Regions from separate parts of the Homo sapiens genome. Here region 1 is linked to region 2. Evidence: promoter capture Hi-C in human tissues and cell types (Jung and others, 2019). All regions are on one chromosome and are shown on one strand. The core of a region is centred on a gene start or on the middle of the fragment in contact, and the rest is flanking DNA. Distances in the headings are between cores, read along the strand shown.

The links. Contacts are between HindIII fragments. The study calls those that stand out against the background at their distance.
Region 1: a fragment that was not itself captured here is called in contact with the fragment with the promoter of PPP2CB in region 2 in 3 of the 25 tissues and cell types used here (ovary, pancreas and psoas muscle).

What each region holds. Positions count from the first base shown.
Region 1 is chr8:30,776,209-30,780,089 of GRCh38, forward strand. No RefSeq gene overlaps it. Among named protein-coding and RNA genes, the nearest start is that of UBXN8, 34 kb to the left of the region's middle. The HindIII fragment of the contact is 4,438 bases long and covers 1-3,740 here.
Region 2 is chr8:30,810,366-30,814,366 of GRCh38, forward strand. PPP2CB (protein phosphatase 2 catalytic subunit beta) reads right to left here and starts at 2,453. Exons shown (of 7, transcript NM_001009552.2): 1 at 1,955-2,453. The coding sequence starts at 2,056. RefSeq lists silencers at 1,707-1,766, 1,827-1,936, 2,017-2,076, 2,107-2,326. The HindIII fragment of the contact is 3,135 bases long and covers 1,528-4,001 here.

The DNA of each region.
Region 1 (3,881 bases), core at 272-2,771, 35 kb before region 2:
TCAAAACAAACAAACAAAAAATAAAAATCTGATAAGGACATTGTCTCAGTTCATGGCTTTCATCTTCAAGGTCACCTGGTATTCAAAACTGGATGCTAGGATTCCAGCTATCCTGTCCACACTCCAAGAAGCAGAGAAGAGGAGGCCTCTTTAGAGAGCTTTGGGAGCTTCCACTCACATCTTGTTGCCAAGCTTAGTCCTGTGGCCAGCTGTCATCTTTGAAGGGGGCATATTGCTATTCCTTGCAAAATAGGCCTTGTACCTTGATCTTAGTTAACTGGCCTCAGTTCAGACCTTGTTTCCAACATGACAAAACCCGATGGCCCAGGAGAGGTGGAGGAGGCTGAGACCAGGAGGAGAAGGGCCTTGGGACTATGCTCCCAATGACATTACCGGCAACCCCAGTGCCCCCGCGAGGTGCGGCCCTCAGGAGTGACCCCACACTGGTGCAGGCTGCACCACCCAGGACCCTCCACTGCTGCTGATCTGCCTCCCATGCCTGGATAATTTTTATTTTATTTATTTTTCATTTTTTATCTTTAGCTTTTTTTTTCATTACAAAACCTCAAAGTACCAATGCCTGACTAATTTTTAAATATTTTTGTAGAGACAGGGTCTCACTATGTTGCCCAGGCTGGAATACAGTGGCCCGATCTCAGCTCATTGGAGCCTCGACCTCCTGGGCTCAATTGATCCTCCTGCTTCAGCCTCCTGAGTAGCTGAGGACTGACCACAGGTGCGTGCTACCATGCCCAGCTAATTATTTTTTATTTTTGTAGAGATCGGGTCTCACTATGTTGCCCAGGCTGGTCTCTAACTCCTGGACTCAGGTGATCCTACCGCCTCGGCCTCCAAAAGTGCTGAGATAACAGGCGTGAGATACCACACTTGGTCCTACATGGTCTTATTTAGAGAATTTGCCCTCATTTTATTACTCTTCATCTCTGTATTTCACTTTGTAAACGCTCTTCCTCACTATCATGGATTGATATGGGAGCTCTGCTCATTTGAGCTTAATTATACAGTAGCTATTATCAAAAGACAATATAAAGTCATTCTAGGTTGTTCTACTGTGACCGTGACACTAAGGGGTTTTGTTGTTGTGGGGATAAAAGAAAATAAAGTGACATTTTTCTGAAGGAAATATTTAAATTAAAAAGTGTGAAATTTCCCTTTAAAGGGAGGGAAAAAGCTTTAGTCAGGTAATTGCTCTGCTAGCTGAAATTGAGATTCTAAAAATAACAAGCTCTAAATCATATGGCTTATTTAGACTTCCACTTAGGACACAGAGATCTGTAAAGAATGCTGCTCTCACCCTAGCAACAAGAAACAGCTGGATCTAGCTGGGTGCATGGTGCCTGCATGCCTGTGGTCCCAGCTACTTGGGAGGCTGAGGTGGGGGGATCACTGAGCCTAGGAGTTCAAGACTAGCCTCGGCAATATACTGAGACCTTGTCTCAAGAAAAAAAAAGAAAAGGAAAAGAAACAGCTGGATGATACACAAAATCATAACATTTTTGAGCCCACAGTGAGCTGAGGCTGCAAAGCAATTATGTAAACTGAATTCCAAAAAGAGATAACCCTCTCCAAGGAGAGACGGGACACAGAAACTGTCTTCCCTTTGGCAAAACACGGGAGAAAAGGCAGCTGCTATACAAGCTAAGATTTTGATGTTCGTAAAGGTCACGCATGGGCTACTGCATCAGTTTGGAACCAGACGGGCTATTTAATTTGTGGGCCTTAGTGCAAAATGAAAATGTGGGAACCCTTACTCAAAAGTGAAGAAGTTCAAGATGGCGATAGGCGACAGCAATGCAGTAAACCAAACATGAAGCCCTTCTAAGTGTGGGGCCCTGCACAGGTACCATGCCATGAAGCCAGTCCTGGCTGGGGGCTTCAGACACAAAGGGAGTGCCCATTCTCTAGAAAGTTCTTCCTCCTCACCCTTCACTAGGTGTTCAGGAGGACTGAGACAGGGCAGGAGACCAGAGAAAGCCAACCTCAGAGCAAACAATGAGTGACTGGCGGCTGTAGGGGAACAAGCGCAAAGCTCCACTGGCTTCCCCAGACCCTCCTCTCCTACCAAGCCAAGGTCTTAACCTGCTGGGGAAAGTACAGCAAGTACTATGGCCTGCCAGGAACTGGCAGATCTATTGTCTCTGGAGAAGGAACAGAGGCAGACAAAACAAAACAAAACCAAAACAAAACCCATCTGCTTCTCCCAGGACTCAGGCAAAGATTATTGCTGCTGGCAGAAGGTCGAGGCAAAAATTCTCTACCTTGGAGGGAAGGGTGGATACAGATATCAAACAGATGTCTAGTCTTGCTAGGAATGGGGCCGAAAACTCCCACCCTACGCCAACCATGGACACAAGGAGAAGTTTGGCAGCCACAGGTAGAAGGAGCAAGAATGCTTAGAAAAACCTCACCTTGAAAACCAAAGCACAGGCTGGGTGCGGTGGCTCATGCCTGTAATCATGGCACTTTGGGAGGTTGAGGCGGGTGGATCACCTGAGGTCAGGAGTTTGTGACCAGCCTGGCCAACACGGTGAAACCCAGTCTCTACTAAAAACACAAAAATTAGCTAGGCATGGTGGCGCGCGCCTGTAATCCCAGCAACTCGGGAGGCTGAGGCAGGAGAATTGCTTGAACCCGGAGGTTTCATGCGGAGGTTGCAGTGAGCCGAGATTGCGCCACTGCATTCCAGCCTGGGTGACAGAGCAAGACTCCATCTCAAAAGAGAAAAACAAAAACATAGCACAAAGAGCCAGCCCAAGATTGAGGCTGAATTGGGACAACAGAGAACCTCACCTGCTCCTACCATGAGCCCAGCACTGAGTGATACACAGCAGCAGTCTCCAACTGGGGAAGGGGTGAGGGCATGGAGAAGGACCTCCCTCGTATGCAGGCGTGAAAGGATTGCTGAATGGGGAGCAGGAGCGCCCGAGAAAAACCCAGCACCTAAGCACAAGGTGACAGCAGTCAAGCTTAAATTAGTGGAATTGCAGGCTAATGGGCTGTGATTCCATGGGTAATGATAGAATTCTATACCTAGTAAAATGATCTTTAAAAAAAATTTTTTTTTTTTGAGTCAGAGTTGCCCAGGCTGGGGTGCAGTGGTGTGATCTCAGCTCATTGCAACCTCTGCCTCCTGGGTTCAAGTGATTCTTGTGCCTCAGCCTCCCAGTAGCTGGGTTTAGCAGGCCACCATGCCCGGCTAATTTTTATATTTTTAGTAGAGACAGGTTTTCACCATGTTGGCCCAGCTGGTCTTGAACTCCTGGCCTCAAGTGATCAGCCTGCCTCTGCCTCCCAAGATGTTTGGATTACAGGTATAAGCCATTGCGCTCGGCCTATACCTAGTAAAATGATCTTTCCCACATGAACATGAAAGAAATACTTTTAAAGACATACAAAAGCTGAAAAAATTCATCACCATCAAACTTGCACTACAAAAAATGTTAGTCTTAAGGCAGAAGAAAAACTATACCAGATGGAAATACAAAACTACACAAAGCAATGAAGAACACTAGAAATAACACAGATTTATATGAGTAAATAAACTTTTTTCTTGTTACTAAATCCCTTTAAGTGATATTTTAGTGATGATAATATAATAGCAATGTTGCATGGGGCTTATAATACATATAAAACCAAAATTTATGACAATAGCACAGTTAGGGATATATATTACAAGATTCTGATACTCTATGTGAAGTGGTGTAATGCCACTTGATGGCAGATGGAACAAAGTTAAAGATGTATACCACAAATCCTAAAGCAACCACTAAAGGAACAAAACAAAAAGGTATAGCTAATAAGCCACACAAAAGAGATACATAGAATAAAAAATATTCAATTAATCCAAAAGAATTCAGAAA
Region 2 (4,001 bases), core at 1,203-3,702:
CCTCGAACCCCGGAGGTGGAGGTTGCAGTGAACAGAGACGGCACCACTGCGCTCCAGTCTGGGCGACAGACTGAGCCTCTGTCTCAAAACAAAAATAAAACAAAAAAAGGAAGTCAATGGGAAAAACTGATTCAACTAACACTTTACCCATAACTTCAAGTCTGTATTCTGATGCTCATAGTCAGGTTAACTGACTCAGATCATTTCAAACCTGTACATTTCACTTCGCATTAGAGCTGGAGAGAGATGTTTAAGGCATAAATTTTAAGACTCATGAAATTACAGGTTATCACAATAAAAATGAATGTCAACTGAAGCCACAAGTAAGCAGTTTGTTTCAGAAAGAGAAAAATACCACTTGCTTGGCACTTCTATTTACAAAAATAAATCCTCCTGTGTTAACAAATAGTTACTTAATACACAAAGGCCCCGACCAACATTACACCCGTTAAAAATATTGTAACTTAACACCATCTATTAGTGCTCCTTTTCTAAGTAAATTTCATGATCTTAAGAGTACCCTAAAATCAGACTAACAAAATCTTTCCTTCTCCAGTGCACTTCTGCCACATCATGACTTCTAAACATTACGGTTAAGAAAATTTTATAGATTACGTTTTAAAATAACATCGTTACTTCTTCATGCACTTCAAGTGAGAATTTTTAACCTAAAAATACATGAAAATTATTTAGTCCACCTTGTAAAGGATGAATGTGGACAACTCTAGACTTCAAAGATGGAGAGATCGAAATAATTTCAGGGGTTAAGAAAACAATGGATACAGAATTTACAAAGTGAAGATCACACACTCACGATGTACAAGAACGAACTGATCACCCGCATGTTTTATTATTCTTTGGAAAAAAACTTTATATATATTAAAAACAAAAATAACTTTCTGCAAAGTGCTATCGTGCATGAAAACACACATCCCACTTATCATTTCCAGCAAACACTGTTCCCAAACTTAAGATCGGCTCTCGTTTCTGAAAATCAACACTTTACTTCCAAGAGCCACTCAACACAAAGACCAGTCACCATCTGTTTCCACCAAAGTCAACCTCTATTTTAAAAATCACAGTTGGCCATCACGCCTACCTCTCCGCAAACAAACGCTTGGCACATTCAAGAATCAGCGATTTTTTTTTTTTTTTTTTTGCTGTCGCCCAGGCTGGAGTGCAGTGGCGCGATCTCGACTCACTGCAACCAGCCTCCACCTCCTGGGCTCAAGCGATCCTCCCGCCTCAGCCTCCCGAATAGCTGGGATTACAGGCACCCGCCGTCACACCCTGCTAATTAAAAAAAATTTTTTGTGTGTGGAGACGGGGCCTCACTATGTTGCCCAGGCTGGTCTCTAACTCCTGGGCTCAAGCAATCCTCCCGCTTCAGCCTCCCGAGTAGCTGTGGCCACAGGCGTGAGCCACCACGCCCGGCTTGAGTTAGTGATTTCTGAGGTGCCCCGTTCACCTGACAAAAATTCTGCATTTATTAACAAGTTCATTAATACGCACGACATTCTGGTTAATTTTAGTTGCATTTTCAGAAACTGGTCTGAAAATGGTCCTTTTCGGACGTCGCTCTCGCTAGTCCACTCGGGAAATGCTAGAGTGGCAGGAACTCCCCAGTGGAGCGCAGGCGACCCCGACCAACCTCCTGCTTGGCTCAGGGGGCTACGTTTCCCCGCCCGTCCGCACCCGAGCCCCCCACGCCCGGGATCTGGGCAGCCGGCCGGGGGCGTGAGGCGGAGGTGGAAGGGGCAGGCGAGGGCAGCCCAACGCCCCGGGCCCTGAACCGATGGGCCGGCCGCCTAGGTGGACGCCGGAGCCGGACCCACAGCCCCGCAGGCCCCCGGTGGGCCGCGCCGGGCCAGGGGCGGACGGGACCGGGGCGGGCAGGAAAGCGGCGGCCCGTCCCAGCCCCGCGCTCCCGCACTCGCCCCCGCGGCGCCCTCACCTTCTCGCACAGCGTCCGCACTTGGTTCTCGTTCAGCTGCTTACACTCGTTCAGCTGCTCGACCCACTGGTCCAGCTCCTTGGTGAACGCCTTGTCGTCCATGGCGGCCCGATCCCGATGCGGATCCCGAGCCCCAGCCCGGCCGCCGCCCTCCCCCCTCCCCACCCGCCCCCGGCCCCGGCCCGGGCGCCGCTCCCCTCTCCCTCCGCCGCCGTCGCCAGGTCCCACAGGGGGAGGACTGAGCCGGGTAGGGCGGCCGCGGGCCCCGCGCCCCGCCCAAGCCCAGCAGGCGGCTCCGAGCGCGCAGCCTGGAGGAGACCCCCGCCCGCCCTTCCCCGCCCGGCCGCGCGCCGCGGGAGTCGGTGAAGGACGCGGTGAGGTGCCGGGGAGCGCGGCGCGGGTCCTCGGCCTAGCTCTCGCCGGACGAAGGCCGCCCGCTGCCGCTTCAGGCCCGCCTCACGCCTACCGGCCTCTCCCGACTTGTCTTTCCCCTTCTCTCGCTCTTTCTCTCCCCTCCCTCCGGGTTTCCGTCATCGCTCGGGCATTTCCGCCGGGAAAAGGCGAGCAGGCGGCGCCGCCGGGACACGGCGCCCTAGGAGCAGAACAGCGCCCTCGCGTGGCTTGGCGGAGAAACGGTCCGAGGAGGCCAGGGTCCCTCTTTTCCCCACCCTGCCCCAGACCAAGCTCTGCTGGTTCTCCCTTTAAATATCCTGATCTCTGGGAACTTTGTCCTCACTTTAGCTTCCTGCAGTACTTTGCAGCGCTCTGGACAGGGAGTTGGAAAACTTGGGCTTCCCTTAACATTGTCTCCCCAGAGTCTAGCACTCAATAGCAGGCATTCAATATTGATGGAGTAAATTAATTATTTCCAGCCTCACCTGTAGCCCCTAACATCTCGAATCCTCCCTTTCGACATTAGAAAAGTGAAATGATTGTTCTGTAGGATAATCTGTGGCCCTTCCAGCTCCAGAGCTCTTGGCTATATTTTCTGCAATGTGTACTGAGTTGTAATGATTTGTTCATTCAACAAATATTTATTGAGAGACAGAACAGGGACCCCTCTTAGGGGCCATCTAGGCACCCCCCTCCCCAAGCATGGAAATAAAGGAAAATCTTGAGTTCCCTGAAGGGACATTCCAGGCACCTAACTTCCTCAATAAGTCAATGAGCAACCTGATAAGCAAGAAGGTAATAATAGCTTAAGACAGTAGCCAAGGACGTTAGATTCACAAAATGTTTGCTTCCCTATAGAAACTAAAGACGACATATGTCCCTGAGTTGTTTTTCAGAAACCTGGACCTCACCAAATGGAAAATGGTGTCCACTGGCATGGAGATCTCAAACTACCTATCTTTGTTCTAAATTTCTTCCTGAGGAGCCTGGAAGAATTCACAAAGCTTTGCCTCCTTAACCAATTGCAAATCAGAAAATCTTTGAATCCATCTATGACCTGTGGGTCCCTGCTTCAGATATCCTGGCTTTTTAGATCAAACCCACGTATAGCCTCCATGTATTGATTTATGACTTTGCCTGTAACCTCTGCCTCCCTGCCTTTAAAAATCCTTACCTGGGCTGGGCGCAGTGGCTCATGCCTGTAATCCCAGCACTTTGGGAGGCCGAGGCCAGGAGTTGGAGACCAGCCTGCCAACATGGTGAAACCCCTTCTCTACTAAAAATACAAAAACTAGCTGGGCATGGTGGTGGGCGCCTGTAATCCCGGCTACTTGGGAGGCTGAGGCAGATGAATCACTTGAAATCGGGAGGTGGAGGTTGCAGTGAGCCGAAATCTCGCCATTGCACTCCAGCATGGGTGACAAGAGTGAAACTCTGTTTCAAAAAAAAAAAAAAAAGCACACAAAAAACCCCTTACCTGTAAACCATCAGGGAGTTGGGGTCTTAAGCATGAGCTGCCTGATTCTTCTTGCTTGGTGCAATGCAATAAATGCCTCACTTTCACTACAAACCCCAATGTCAGTGTTTGGCTTTGCCGTACTTGAGGGAGGACCTAAATTCAGTTAGGTAACATGAGCAGCTGCTAGCTGCCAGA